5 separate regions of the Homo sapiens genome follow, and regions 1, 2, 3 and 5 are each linked to region 4. Evidence: promoter capture Hi-C in human tissues and cell types (Jung and others, 2019). All regions are on one chromosome and are shown on one strand. The core of a region is centred on a gene start or on the middle of the fragment in contact, and the rest is flanking DNA. Distances in the headings are between cores, read along the strand shown. Region 1 overlaps CAMTA1 (calmodulin binding transcription activator 1). Region 2 overlaps CAMTA1 (calmodulin binding transcription activator 1). Region 3 overlaps CAMTA1 (calmodulin binding transcription activator 1). Region 4 holds the start of DNAJC11 (DnaJ heat shock protein family (Hsp40) member C11). Region 5 overlaps ICMT (isoprenylcysteine carboxyl methyltransferase).

The links. Contacts are between HindIII fragments. The study calls those that stand out against the background at their distance.
Region 1: a fragment that was not itself captured here is called in contact with the fragment with the promoter of DNAJC11 in region 4 in 3 of the 25 tissues and cell types used here (hippocampus, liver and mesendoderm cells).
Region 2: a fragment that was not itself captured here is called in contact with the fragment with the promoter of DNAJC11 in region 4 in 1 of the 25 tissues and cell types used here (lymphoblastoid cells).
Region 3: a fragment that was not itself captured here is called in contact with the fragment with the promoter of DNAJC11 in region 4 in 1 of the 25 tissues and cell types used here (lymphoblastoid cells).
Region 5: a contact is called between a fragment that was not itself captured here and the fragment with the promoter of DNAJC11 in region 4, in 1 of the 25 tissues and cell types used here (liver).

The regions. Positions count from the first base shown.
Region 1 is chr1:7,199,874-7,202,621 of GRCh38, reverse strand. All of the region lies in intron 4 of CAMTA1 (calmodulin binding transcription activator 1), which reads right to left. Among named protein-coding and RNA genes, the nearest start is that of CAMTA1-IT1, 160 kb to the left of the region's middle. The HindIII fragment of the contact is 8,532 bases long and covers 1-2,748 here.
Region 2 is chr1:7,078,217-7,080,916 of GRCh38, reverse strand. The region is part of intron 3 of CAMTA1 (calmodulin binding transcription activator 1); the gene reads right to left. Among named protein-coding and RNA genes, the nearest start is that of CAMTA1-AS3, 65 kb to the right of the region's middle. The HindIII fragment of the contact is 6,035 bases long and covers 1-2,700 here.
Region 3 is chr1:7,061,699-7,064,398 of GRCh38, reverse strand. All of the region lies in intron 3 of CAMTA1 (calmodulin binding transcription activator 1), which reads right to left. Among named protein-coding and RNA genes, the nearest start is that of CAMTA1-AS3, 49 kb to the right of the region's middle. The HindIII fragment of the contact is 9,615 bases long and covers 1-2,700 here.
Region 4 is chr1:6,700,435-6,703,134 of GRCh38, reverse strand. It overlaps DNAJC11 (DnaJ heat shock protein family (Hsp40) member C11), which reads left to right and starts at 1,319. Exons shown (of 16, transcript NM_018198.4): 1 at 1,319-1,406. The coding sequence starts at 1,335. RefSeq lists a silencer at 1,083-1,532. The HindIII fragment of the contact is 19,207 bases long and covers 1-2,700 here.
Region 5 is chr1:6,227,014-6,229,713 of GRCh38, reverse strand. All of the region lies in intron 4 of ICMT (isoprenylcysteine carboxyl methyltransferase), which reads left to right. Among named protein-coding and RNA genes, the nearest start is that of ICMT, 7.6 kb to the left of the region's middle. The HindIII fragment of the contact is 6,595 bases long and covers 1-2,700 here.

The DNA.
Region 1 (2,748 bases), core at 148-2,647, 500 kb before region 4:
TATTTGGGAATAATTACAAGAAGTCCAAAACTTACATTGCAAAAACTATAAAACATGGTTGAAACAAATTTAAAAAGACCTAAATAAATGGAAAAACTTCAATGTTCATGGGTCAGAAAACTTAACATCGTTAAGATATCAGTACTCTCCAAACTGCTCTACAGAGTCAATTCAATCTCTGTGAGAATTCCAGCTGACTTCTTTGTAGATATTGTCAAGCTGATTCTAAAATTCATATGAAACTGTAAGAGACACAGAATAGCCAAAACAATACTAAGAAAAGAACAAAGTAGGAGGATTCACACTTTCTGAATTCAAAATTTACTACAAAGCAATGGTAATCAAGACAATGTGGTACTAGCACAAAGGAGACGTACAGATCAATAGAATAGAAATGACAGCCTAGAAATAAACCCATACAGCTGTCATCAATTGACTTTTGACAATGGCACCAAAACCATTCAACTGGGAAAAAAATAGTCTTTTCAACAAATGAAGCTGGGACAACTAGCTAGTCACATGCAAAAGAATGAAATTGAATCCTTATCTCACACCATATACAAAAATAAACTCAAAACAGATGGATCAAAGAGCTAAATGAAAGAGTTAAAACTAAAATTCTTAAAAGAAAACATAGGTATAAACATTCACGGCCTTGGATTGGCAAAGCATTTTTTAGATATGACATCAAAAGCATGAACAACAAAATAAAAAATAGACACATGGGGCTTCTTCAGAACACAGAACTTTTGTGCTTCAAAGGACACCAAAAAAATTGAAACTGTGGAAGAATAGGATAAAATATTTGCAAATTATATATCTGATAAAGAACTTATGTCTAGAATATATAAAGAACTCTTACAACTTAATAATAAAAAGGACAGGTAACCCAATTTAAAAATAGGCAAAGCCTCTGAATAGACATTTCTCTAAGGAAGAAATACAAATGGAAAATATACAAATATACACACAAAGACACTTGATATTATTAGCTATCAGGGAGATTCACATCAAAACCATAAAGAGATGACACTTTAATACCCAGGAGGAAGATGAGAATCTGAAAGTCAGATAATAACAAGTGTTGACAGAGAAACTGGAACCCTCATACCCTGCTGGTAAGAATGTAAATTGGTGTGGCCACTGTGGAAAATGGTCTAGGTCTAACAGTTCCTCAAGTAATGAAACACAGAGTTACCATGTGACCCAGCAATTTTACTCAGGTGGATACCCAAAAAAGAAATGAAAAAAAATATGTCTACACAAAAACATGTGCACAAATGTTTATAGCATCATGGTTAATAATAGCCAAATGAGTTATATCCATATAATGAAGCCAAATGAGTTATATCCATATAATGAAATATTATTCAGCCATAAAAAAGAATGAAGCACTGCTGCATGCTACAATGTGGATGAACCTTAAAAACATGATGCTAAATGAAAGAAGACAGTTACCAAAGGCCACATATTATACGATTTCATTCTTACAAAGGTCCAGAACAGAGAAAGCTATAGAGACTCTAAGTGGATTAATGTTTGCAGAGGGCTGGCGGTGGGGAGTGTGGATGGGGAGATAGTGAAGTGATGGCTACATAACATGGCATTTCTTCTGGAGGTTTTGAAAATGTTTAAAATCAATGGGGGCACATTTATGTGAATATACTAAAAACCTTTGAATTGTACACTCTAAATGGTGACTTGTACAGCACGTGAATTACATCACAATAAAGCTGTTTTTCAAAATTTTTAAGCCTGATGAGAAACAAGATATTCACACAGTCCCCAAGTACCACCTCATGAGATACTTATTAATTAGAAAAAATAAACAGTACTTTCCAGTAGAGAAACCTGGCAGGCAACCACCTTAATCAAGCAATGAGTTAACACCAACCAGCAATGCGCAAATCTCCTGATATGAGGTACTGAGAAGGACATAACATGGCTTCCGTAGTATTTTGGACAACACTGTGTAATCTAATCTATGCGGAACCTCAGACAAACCAGAACTGAGGGACATGCTGCAAAATAGCAGGCCTGTACTCGTCAAAAATGTCCGATTCAAGAAAGAAAAAGAAAGACGGCAGAACTCTTCCAGATTAAGAAACTGGAACTAAATGCGCCCCATGATCCCAGATTGAATCCAGGACCAAAACTCAAACAACCATTTGTTTTTCATTTGCTATAAAGAACATTACTGGGACAATTGTTGAAATTTCTGTAAGGGATGAGGATAAAATAATAATAGTATCACATTGATGTTAATTTCCTGACTTTGATATTTGTACTGTGGTTATGTATAAGACGTGGTTATGTACAAGAATGTCCTTGGTCTTAAACACACAGTGAAATATTTAGAGGTAAGAAGCTTCATGTCTTCAATCTATTCTCAAATATTTCAAAAGAGTGTTAAAATGTTACATATGTACACCACTTCATATATATACACACACCCACATACACAGAGAATAATTAAGTATATATAGTGAAATGTGAACAACTATGAAATCTGGCGAATGATATACAAATGGTACTTGTATGTTTTAAAAAACTTTTCAACTTTCTGAAATTGTTTCAAATAAAAATTTTAATTAAAAAAGCATGCTTGCAGTACAATGTCATTTATATAAAGTTCTAAAGCAGATGAAAGAAAATTATCCTCATCTATATACACATGCAGCAAAGGTGTATAAACATTCATGACAGTGGTTAGCTCTGGGGAGGATGGGGCCAGGTACGCAATAACTG
Region 2 (2,700 bases), core at 5-2,504, 380 kb before region 4:
CTTTACCCCTGATATTTTGGAAACACTTAGAATTCTCTTTTATCTCCATTAGTAATCAACCACCCTTCTACTAGCTAGAAAGTCTTTATATATTAAATTTTCTGTTCAAATAACCAAACATGCTTCTGTCTCCTGAGAGGATCCTGACTGATATAAGAATAATCCACCAGCCTGGCCAACATGGTGAAACCCCATCTCTATTAAAAATACAAAAATTAGCCTGGCATGGTGGTGGTCACCTGTAATCCCAGCTATTTGGGAGGCTGAGGCAGGAGAATCGCTTGAACCTGGAAGGCAGAGGTTGCAGTGAGCCAAGATCGTGCCATTACACTCCAGCCTGAGTGACAGAGCAAAACTCTGTCTCAAATAATAATAATAATAATAAATCCACAGTGCTGAAGATGTTTACAATCTCACTGATGTGTAATCCTAGAAAACACACTAAAAGGTAGAGGGAGAATGAAAAAATACCTGAAAGAGAAGCAGCATGTATTTGGGAGGAGATATCAAATTGCCGTATTGAGGTCTTTATAGCAAGTTTCCTAGATGCCAGCCAGATCATAGTTTGAAAGGCACTGGAGGAATATATGTCCTACCTTTTAGTTTGTGAGAAGACCTGAATCCACCTATTTTGAGAGATTAAAAAAACATTTCTTTTAGAATAGAAAAAGTTAATCCATCTCCCTTTGGTTGTATGATTTGGGGGAAGTCACATGATAGCTCTGTGCCTCAGTTTCCTCTAATGTGTGCCATGAATCTATAGGTATTACTTCATTTACTACAATTGTGTTATCCCATATTTCAGGGATTAAAACCTATTTTCAATCAGCATCATGGAGATATAATTTACATACAATAAAATGTACCCCATTTTAAATGTAAAGTCCAGTAGATGTTAACACATAAATGTATTATGTATCTATCACCATATTCAAGATGTAAAACAATTTCCAGGACCATGTAAGGATAATTTACTCTATACGGAATTTTACACTGACAGACTGTTCCCCCTTTCGGCACTCAAGAGATCCCATTCCATTGTCTTCTAGCTTGCATGATTTCTGATGAGAAGTCTGCAAAAATTCTTATCTTTGTCTATAATTTGTCTTTTTCCCCTCTTCTAGCTGAGTTTAAGATTTTTTCTTGCTGGGCACTGTGGCTCATGCCTGTAATTCCAGCACTTTGGGAGGCCGAGGTGGGAGGATCGCTTGAGGTTAGGAGTTTGAGACCAACCTGGCCAACATGGTGAAACCCATTTCTACTTAAAAAAAAAAAAAATTAGCCAGGCGTGATGGTGTGTGCCTGTAATTCCAGCTACTTGGGAGGCTGAGGCACAAGAATCGCTTGAACCTGGGAGGTGGAGGTTGCAGTGAGCCAAGACTGACCACTGCACTCCAGCCTGGATGACAGAGTGAGATTCTGTCTTTAAAAAAGAAAAAAAAAATCTTTATCACTAATTTGAAGAAATCTGATCATACTGTGTGTGCCATTCTGTGGTTTCTTTGTATTTACCTTGCTTGGGGTGTGTTGAGCTTCTCAGGTCAGTGAGTTTATAGCTTTTGTCAAGTTTGGAAAACTGTCAGCAATTATATCTTTAACTAAAGAGCATTAGGCTTTAGGCTTTACTCTGGCAGTTATTTAAGTTACTTGTGGATCAGCCTGACCCTCTCAAGGCTTATTTTTAATCTCTGTAAAGGTGGGTCTACAGCACGTTTTACTCCAGAAATGTTGTTACCCTACTATTATTGCTTCTTCCTTCCGGAGTCTCTACTGAATGTCCCAAATATTCAAGGACAGCTCCCCAGTCGGGCTGGTCAGAATGCAAATACCTCCGAGTCCTGTATGAGCTCTGTGAATTTTATAGCCCCTATGTGCACTTTGTCCAGTTTTGTGGGGTTTCACCTCACTCATCAATGGTTTAGTAGTCAACAGAACATCCCAGGAGAGCCATAAAAGTTTCTAGAGCACTTTCTTTGCCAGGCCTTCTCCTGTATGATATTCTGCCCTGCAAATTCTAGATGTATCAACCTCTCCAAACTCTGATATCTGTCTCCTCAGCTCAACAAGATCACTGTACTCTTCTTGGAATACCTCCCTGAAGATACAGTCTTGAAATGCCTCCATGCAGAAATACAAAGTGATTGTATGGTTTACAGTCTTCTCTTAGCAACCACAGTCCTACTCTGACGATCATCTAATAGCTGAAAATATTTATTTCACAGGTTTTATCCAGTTTTATCATTGTTTGTAGCAAGAGGATGAATCTAGTCCTAGTTATTCCATCACAGCCAGTGGCAAAAGTCTCATCATAAATTTTTAGACTTTTATTTTATTCTTTGAGAGGTCAGCAATCTTTCAATGAAGGACATAGCCAGCCTAAAGAAACAGGGTTAAAACTTTGAGGGTGTCATTGTTGTCTCAGAGACAGGCTATCGTAAGCCCGTAGAGATACAGATTTTCTCAAATAACAAAAAGTGAGAGGGAGAGAGAGTGTCTGAAGACGACTCAATACCGATTCTGCCTTCCTTAACACCAACCCTCCTTCACCTCTACCCCCAGATGAAGATGCAGACTTGCTGATCTGAAGGTTCAGTTCAAGAATCAGAAGAGCCTAAAAGAGCACAGATTGTTGTTATAAGTCCTTCCAGAACAGTGATATAAACCTGAATATAAAACAGAAGTAGTGTTGCAAGAATTTGG
Region 3 (2,700 bases), core at 125-2,624, 360 kb before region 4:
ATGCTATGGTATTTGGAGGTGAGATCTTCAGAAGCTAATTAATATGAGACAAGTCATGAAGGTAGGTGTCCTCATGATTATATTAATGGCTTCATAAGGAGAGAGGGAGGGAGGGAGAGAGTGAGAGAGAGAGAACAAGAGGAAGAAAAGAACAAGAACAAGAGGAAGGAGCAGGAGGAGGAGCAGGAGGAAAGGGGAGAAAGAAGAGGAGGAGGAGGAGAAGAAGAAGGAAGAGGAGGAGGAGGGAAGAAGAGAAGGAGGAGGAGGAGAAGAAGAAGGAGGAGGAGGGAAGGAGAGAAGGAGGAGAAGAAGGAGGAGGAGGAGGAGGAGAAGGTGAAGGCAAAGGCTCCCACCATATGAGAAGGCAGCCACCTGGCAGCCAGGCCAGAGCCATCATCAGGAATCGAATCTGCCAGTGCCTTAATCTTGGACTTCCCAGCCTCCAGAACTGTTAGAAATCAATGTCTTCTGTTAAAGCCACCCAGTCTATGGTATTTTGTTACAGCAGCCTGAGCAGACTAGTACATGAATTTATTTTTCTCTCTCCCCCAACAAAATATGAACTTCAGGAGGCAGAAAATGTCCCCAACTTATTCACCACTGTGTTCCCAGCATCCCTGGCAGGATGCTAATCGCACAACCAGTGCCTGAAAAAGTGTGGTTGTTGAATTTGCTCCCACTTTGTAGGTACAACTTGCTGATTTTTATAAGAAGAAAATGTCTAATAATCTAAGTCCAAATGCAAATGGTAGGTCCAGGGAAGGTATTTCAGATCTAAAATAGCTTTAAGACCAAAAGCAGAGGGCAGAGCAGGGGAGGCTACAGGGGAGGAGATATAGCCATAATTCTTCAGAAGAAATCTTTCAAGAGTTGGAAAGTTCTGTCTAGAAGGTAGTCTGCCCCTGCCTCCAATCTGCAATGCAGCTAAACTAGTGTTTCCCGAGGTGTGCTCCGTGGAACATTCTCTCCAGAGATGCCCTGCTAAGATAAAGGGCAGGGAGGTGCGGTGGTGTCGTGGTCAAACGGGTAAGCAAAGCGCTGCAGATGACACCTCCCTCTGGGAAGCTGCGCCTCAGCACACTGACGGGTCTGAGAGGTGTTGCGGAAGAGTCGTCCCTGTCTTTCCACTAGGAATTCTAGGCCGGATTTGACCTGATGTTAGGGGGTGAAGAAAGTGGGAGCAAATTCAACAACCACATTTTTTCGGGCACTGGTTATCCGATCAGCATCCTGCCAGAGATGCTGGGAACACAATGGTGAGTAAGTCGGCGACGTTTTCTGCCTCCTGCAGTTTATATTTTGTTAGGGAAGTGAGAAAAATGAATCCGTGTTCCCCAAAAAGATATGTTGAAGTCCTAACCCCTGTACCCACGCATGTGCCCTTATTTGGAAATAGGAGCTTTGCGATGTCATCTAGTTAAGATGAAGTCATAACGGAGTAGGATGGGCCCCAATCCAATGTGATTGACGTCTCTGCAAGAAGGCCACGTGAAAACAGAGACGCACAGGTTGGGGGAGGCCGCGTGAAGATGGAGCAGGGACGGGAGTGAAGCAGCTGCAGGCAGTGAATAGCAGACGCTAGGAGGGGCGAGGAAGGATCCGCCTGGAGCCCCAGCGGAAGCCTGGCCCTGCCGGTACCTGGACTTGGAGGTCGGGCCTCGGGAACTATGAGAGGGTGCATTTCTGTTGGGTAAAGCCACCCAATTTATGGGACTTCATGGCTGAGGCAGACGGCAGTAAACGAACGCCCTGCAACCCTCCGTCTTCTGCAGCCCCCACACCCGGGCCCACGGCTCCCCACCCCACAGCTCCTTAGCGCGGCTGCTCGGTGGAGCCTGTGCCTGTCCGTGTAAGCCCTCAGCCCCTTTCTCCACACCTCTCCCCGGCGCCCAGCCATTGTGCAACCTTCTTGGCACCGGCCGCTCGAGACTCACCCCCGGGCTGGGCAGCCCATTCCCTGTCACTCATTCTGTGTTTTGATCCTGCCTCATTCTATCTTCTTCTTGCTCACTTTTTACACTAAAAACTTTTACATTAGCTGACTGTAATCTATGTTTCCTTATAATTTACCCTAAATATATAACTCATGACACAATATTATCTATGTCTCAGGAATCTAAACCCATTCTAGACAAAGGTGGAATATAAATCAATATATATACTTTAAAAATATAATGGGACCGCCGGGGGCGGTGACTCACGTCTGTAATCCCAGCACTTTGGGAGGCCATGGCGGGTGGATCGCCTGAGGTCAGGAGTTCGAGACCAGCCTGGTCAACATGGCAAAACCCCGTCTCTACTAAAAATACAAAAATTAGCCGTGCGTGGTGGCGGGCGCCTATAATCCCAGCTACTCGGGAGGCTGAGGCAGGAGAATCACTTGAACCCGGTAGGCGGAGGTTGCAGTGAGCCAAAATCGTGCCACTTCACTCCAGCCTGGATGAAAGAACAAAACTCGGTCTCAAAAAAATAAAATTTAATATAATAGGACCTCATACACCGTCAAATTAAAGCCCTCTGCTCACTCTTCATGGCCTTTGGCACCAAACACCAGCCCCAAGGGAGTCCTGCTCTTCTTCCCAGCTCCCTCCTCTGCCAGCGCCACCCCCTGCTCTGCTGCCACTGCCCCTACTCCAGCCTCTCTCTCCACCCTGGCACTGCCCCTTCTCCCCGCCACCCCACCCCCTCCTCTGCCGCCAC
Region 4 (2,700 bases), core at 70-2,569:
AGAAAGAAATCAGCCTCTCAAATCCACAGACAGGTGTTCGGGGCTTCCCAGGAGACCTGCTTATGAAGGGCAACGGGGATGGCTATGGACTGGTGGTTAGTGAAGGAACAACAAAGGTTTCTGAGACTTGCGCAGGTCAGCGGGAACCAAACAGGTGGCAAGAGTGGGCTGCTGTCCACCTTCCCTTGACAATGGCGTCATTTCGAAGACCTTTAAATTATTTAGATTGTTGTAACCAAGACATCTTTAATAATGCACCAAACAGCAGGCACCAGGTTGAAATCAATTAGACTCCACCGATAAATTATAAGGGAGAAATTTACAGGAGAATGGCTCTGGGGTAGGGACTGCAGGTACACATGCCTGCCAGAGACAATTATATCAGGAACCAAATAGTTATTGCTTTGTCATTTAAGCAGCAGAAAAGATGGCCAGGTGCTCCTAAATTAGAGCAATAACAAATAACTAAAATGAGGAGGCCTGTTCTGGGCAGGAAGGCTTCTGGGTGGCCAAGAGAAAAGACAATGGAGGTAGGAACAAATGTCATTTGGGGGATATCTAGGATCCGGATGCACCCTGCACTGGGGGCACCTCGCGCTTCTTCCAGGAGTTTGGGGCCAGTGGGGTAACAGGTGGTATCACAGGGGTTTGTCTCCCAGAGGATGACAATCTCCTGGAGGTGACTTCAAAGTTTCCCTTTCTAGGCAGGACGCGGTGGCTCATGCCTGTAATCCCAGCACTTTGGGAGGCCGAGGATCTCCTGAGTTCAGGAGCCTCAGACCAGCCTGGCCAACATGGTGAAACCGTGTCTCTACCAAAAATACAAAAAAATTAACTGGGCGTGGTGGCGCGCGCCTGGAGTCCCAGCTACTCGGGAGGCTGAGGCAGGAGAATCGCTTGAACCCGGGAGGTGGAGGCTTCAGTGAGCCGGGATTGCGCCACTGCACACACACCAGGCTGGGCGACAGAGTATGACTCCGTCTCAAAAAAAAAAAAAAAAAGCAAAGTTTCCCTTTCTAGTACAGGAAAAGCCCTAGGGAGTCCTGGCTGGATCTCAGGCCCCCGAGGACGCAGCCACGCCGCGTGCCACGCGTCCATTGGGAGCACGAAGAGACACCCGCGTGGTCACCCCGCCAGGGCTGCCTAGGCGCCGCGTCCCGCCCTAGGCCGCGCGGGGGCGCAAAGCGCAGGCGCACTCCCGCCGGGCGCGGACGGCTCCGGGCCGCCAGGGGCCGCTGTGGCGCAGCCGGGCTGGCCCGCGCTGTCCCTGACGCGGATCACTGGCCCCTCTTGAGCACGGCCTTGCCGGTTTGGCGGGGTGAAAGGTTGCGAAGATGGCGACGGCCTTGAGCGAGGAGGAGCTGGACAATGAAGACTATTACTCGTTGCTGAACGTGCGCAGGGAGGTGAGGCCAGCGGCTGGACGCTCTGGGGGCTGAGGCCGAGCCCGGTCGTTCGGGAGGGCCGGGCTGGCGGTGGCCGCCCCACCCCCGCCACGGGAGGCTCGGGTCCGTCGGGGAGGCCGCGTGACCCCGGCGACGTGCACGCCAGCCGCCCGATGGAGGCGTCCCCACCGCCCAGACCCTCCCGCCGGGGGTTCCGGGGCCAGCCTCCGCCCCAGCTCCTGAAGGCCAGTGCGCCGCGTGCACTGTGTCCGGGTAGGGCCAGAGGCCCCCGCACGCTCAAGAGGAAACGGGGGCCCCGAGGAGGCCACCGTAGTGGGGTTAGCAGTCCTCCGAGACCCCGTCTCGCGCTCAGCCCACATACTCGTCCTGGCTGAGGGGCTGTGTCATCGCCCGCCGCCAGCAGGATGGCGAACTGAGTCTCACCCACCAAGGTCAAGGCCACTAGGGAACGTCCTTAGGGCTTTTTCCGGTTCCCGAGTCTTTCGTGGGGACGCTCTGCCTCTGAAGTGGGTCCAGCCTCAGAGGCATGCGTCTCATGCCCTCTTTCATTCCCCTGGACCCGATGTCCAGAAATTGCAGGCAGAGCCTCCGGGACACAGACCCTCGGCTCGGAGGCTGCAGATTAGGAAGAAGCCCTAGGCCAGAAAAGTGGTGCCCTAACAACAGCTTCAACATTCACACCAAGCACTTGTACCCTGTCTCCTCAACGAATAAAAGATAACATGAGAGAGTCTCACATAGCCTGGCAGTAGTAGGGCCCCACTACACTCCTTTGTTCTTGACTAGTCTGGAGTTGAGATAGGTGTGAAGGGCGAGAAGGCTTCCAGGGTCAGGTCATGAGGTGGATCAGTTTCTTTAAGCCGATGGGTCCAGACTTTTCAGCCCTGCCAGAGAATTCCTAATTCCATCTCTCAGGTTTTCCAGTGGTAATGAAAGCTAGCCAAGTTTGGCTATGCTAACCAAAGCGGGTTCAGTGTGTGTTGTCAGTAAATATTAGTCTATGTGATGTTAATAATACAAACTTATCTTGTGTGGGACCACTATGCTGAATGAACTTTGTACTGTTATCTCATTTAATTCTGAGGATAGCTCTTAAGGTAAGTATTATGATAGCCCTTGATTTACACTTGAGGAAACCAAGGCATAGAGAGATTAAGTAGTGTGTCTAAAGTCACACTACTAGAAAGTGCAAGAGCCTGAACTCAACCCAGGCAGTCTGACTCTGGAGCCCAGCTTGTGAGCTCCATGCTAGTCTGTCACCTTACCTTACCAGTCCTTGGACTACAAAGCTGCT
Region 5 (2,700 bases), core at 108-2,607, 470 kb after region 4:
TGGCATGATCATGGTTTACTGCAGCCTCTACCTCTTGGGCTCAAGTGATCCTCCCACCTTAGTCTCCTAAGTATCTGCCCAGGCTGGAGTGCGGTGTCACAATCTCGGCTCATTGCAACCTCCGCCTCCCGGGTTTGAGTGATTCTCCTGCCTCAGCCTTCTAAGTAGCTGAAACTACAGATGTGTGTCATCACACCTGGCTAATTTTTGTATTTTTTAATTAATTTATTTTTTTGAGATGGAGTTTCACTCTTGTTGCCCAGGCTGGAGTGCAATCATGTGATCTCAGCTCACTGCAACCTCTGCCTCCCGGGTTCAAGCGATTCTCCTGCCTCAGCCTCCTGAGTAGCTGGGATTACAGGCATGCGCCACCATACCCGGCTAATTTTGTATTTTTAGTAGAGACGGGGTTTCTCCATGTTGGTCAGGCTGTTCTCGAACTCCCAACCTCAGGTGATCTGCCTGCCTTGGCCTCCCAAAGCGTTGGGATTACAGACATGAGCCACCATGCCCAGCCCCTGGCTAATTTTTGTATTTTTGTAGAGACGGGGTTTTTCCATGTTGCCTAGGCTGGCCTCGAACTCCTGCGGTTGAGTGATCTACCCGCCTCGGCCTCTCAAAGTGCTGGGATTACAGGCGTGAGCCACCACATGTATTTCTTTTTCTTTCTTTTTTTTTTTTGAGACAGAGTCTCACTTTGTCGCCCAGGCTGGAGTGCAGTGGTGCGATCTTGGCTCACTGCAACCTCCACCTCCCGGGTTCAAGTGAGTCTCCTGCCTCAGCCCCCGCGAGTAGCTGGGATTACAGTTGTGCACTACCTCGCCCAGCTAATTTTTTGTATTTTTAGTAGGTTTAGTAGGGGTTTCACTGTGTTGGCCAGGCGGTTCTCAAACTCCTGACCTCAGATGATCCACCCGCTTCAGCCTCCCAAAGTGCTGGGATTACAGGCGTGAGCCACTGCATCCAACCCGCATATTTCTTTTTTAAAATTACTATTTGGCTAGGCACAGTGGCTTTGGGAGACCAGAGCAGGAGGATTGCTTGAGGCCAGGAATTAGAAACCAGCTTGGCTGGCCGGGCATGGTGGCTCATGCCTGTAATCCCAGCACTTTGGGAGGCTGAGGCAGGCAGATCATGAGGTCAGGAGATCAAGACCATCCTGGCTAACACAGTGAAGCCTCATCTCTACTAAAAATACAAACAATTAGCCTGGTGTGGTGGCACGCATCTGTAGTCCCAGCTACTTGGGAGGCTGAGGCAGGAGAATGGCGTGAACCCGGGAGGCGGAGCTTGCAGTGAGCCGAGATCGCGCCACCGTACTCCAGCCTGGGCGACAGAGCGAGACTCCATCTCAAAAAAAAAAAAGAAAAAGAAACCAGCTTGGCCAACATAGTGAGAACCCTTCTCTCCAGAGGAAAAAACTAAAAATATATCTGGAAGTTGTAGTGTGCACCTGTAGTCCCAGCTACTCAGGAGGCTGAGGCAGGAGGATCGCTTTGATTGCTGCTGTACTCCAGTCTGGGCAACAGAGTGAGACCCTGTCTTAAAAACAGAAAACAAAATTATTTATTTGTGTATTAAAGATGAGATCTCGCTGTGTTGCCCAAGCTAGTCTCAAACTCCTGGGTTCCAGCAGACCTTCTGCTTTTGTCTCCTGAGTAGCTGGGACTATAAGTGTGCACCACCATGCCCAGCTAACTTTTTGTTTTTTGTAGAGATGGGGTCTTAGTGTTGCCCAGGCAGATTTTGAACTCCTGGGCTCAAGCAGTCCTCTCACTGCAGCCTCTCAAAATGCTGGGATTACAGGCATGATCCACCATGCCCAACCCAAAGCCTTATTTCTTTTTTTTTTCTTTTTGAGACAGAGTCTCGCTCTGTCGCCCAGGCTGGAGTGCAGTGGCGCAATCTCGGCTCACTGCAAGCTCCGCCTCCTGGGTTCACGCCATTCTCCTGCCTCAGCCTCCTGAGTAGCTGGGACTACAGGCGCCCGCCACCATGCCTGGCTAAATTTTTTGTATTTTTAGTAGAGACGGGGTTTCACTGTGTTAGCCAGGATGATCTCAATCTCCTGACCTCATGATCCACTTGCCTCAGTCTCCCAAAGTGCTGGGATTACAGGCGTGAGCCATCGCGCCTGGCCGCCTTATTTCTTGAAACTGTTTCTTGATTCTTTACTCTTGGTCCTAGAAAAACTTGGCCAAAGAATGTGAATAGATCTTGGAAAATTCACGAAGTGTTTGGGAAAAGTCTCCAAGTCTTTGGGCAAATCCAGAGATCTCTCAGGCATCCCATCAGCAATGCATGGTCCTTGGTGACTCTGGTGACCCCTAACGGTATAGGTGGGGCAAATGATCACATAGCATTTACAATTTTTGTTTCTGAAACATGTAAAACCGCCACATTAACAATCACCTTCCCTGGGAACAAATTAGTTATGACTGAATAATGTAATTTGCCATAAATGCTTGCTTCCTGTATATGTGTGTGCACTAGAACCAAAGGGTTTTCCATACCTTTTTGCCCATAGATTTTTTTTACATTGTGCTCCAGCACTTGTGTGTGTATGAAAGGAACATGTCTTTCCTGATATAATACTTACACTTACTGTTTACAAAATCCTGTTTTCTATCTTATTATTTCAATACTGTTCATAATGTACTAAATGATTTCATGGCTTAGTAACAGGCTGCAGCCTGCTAT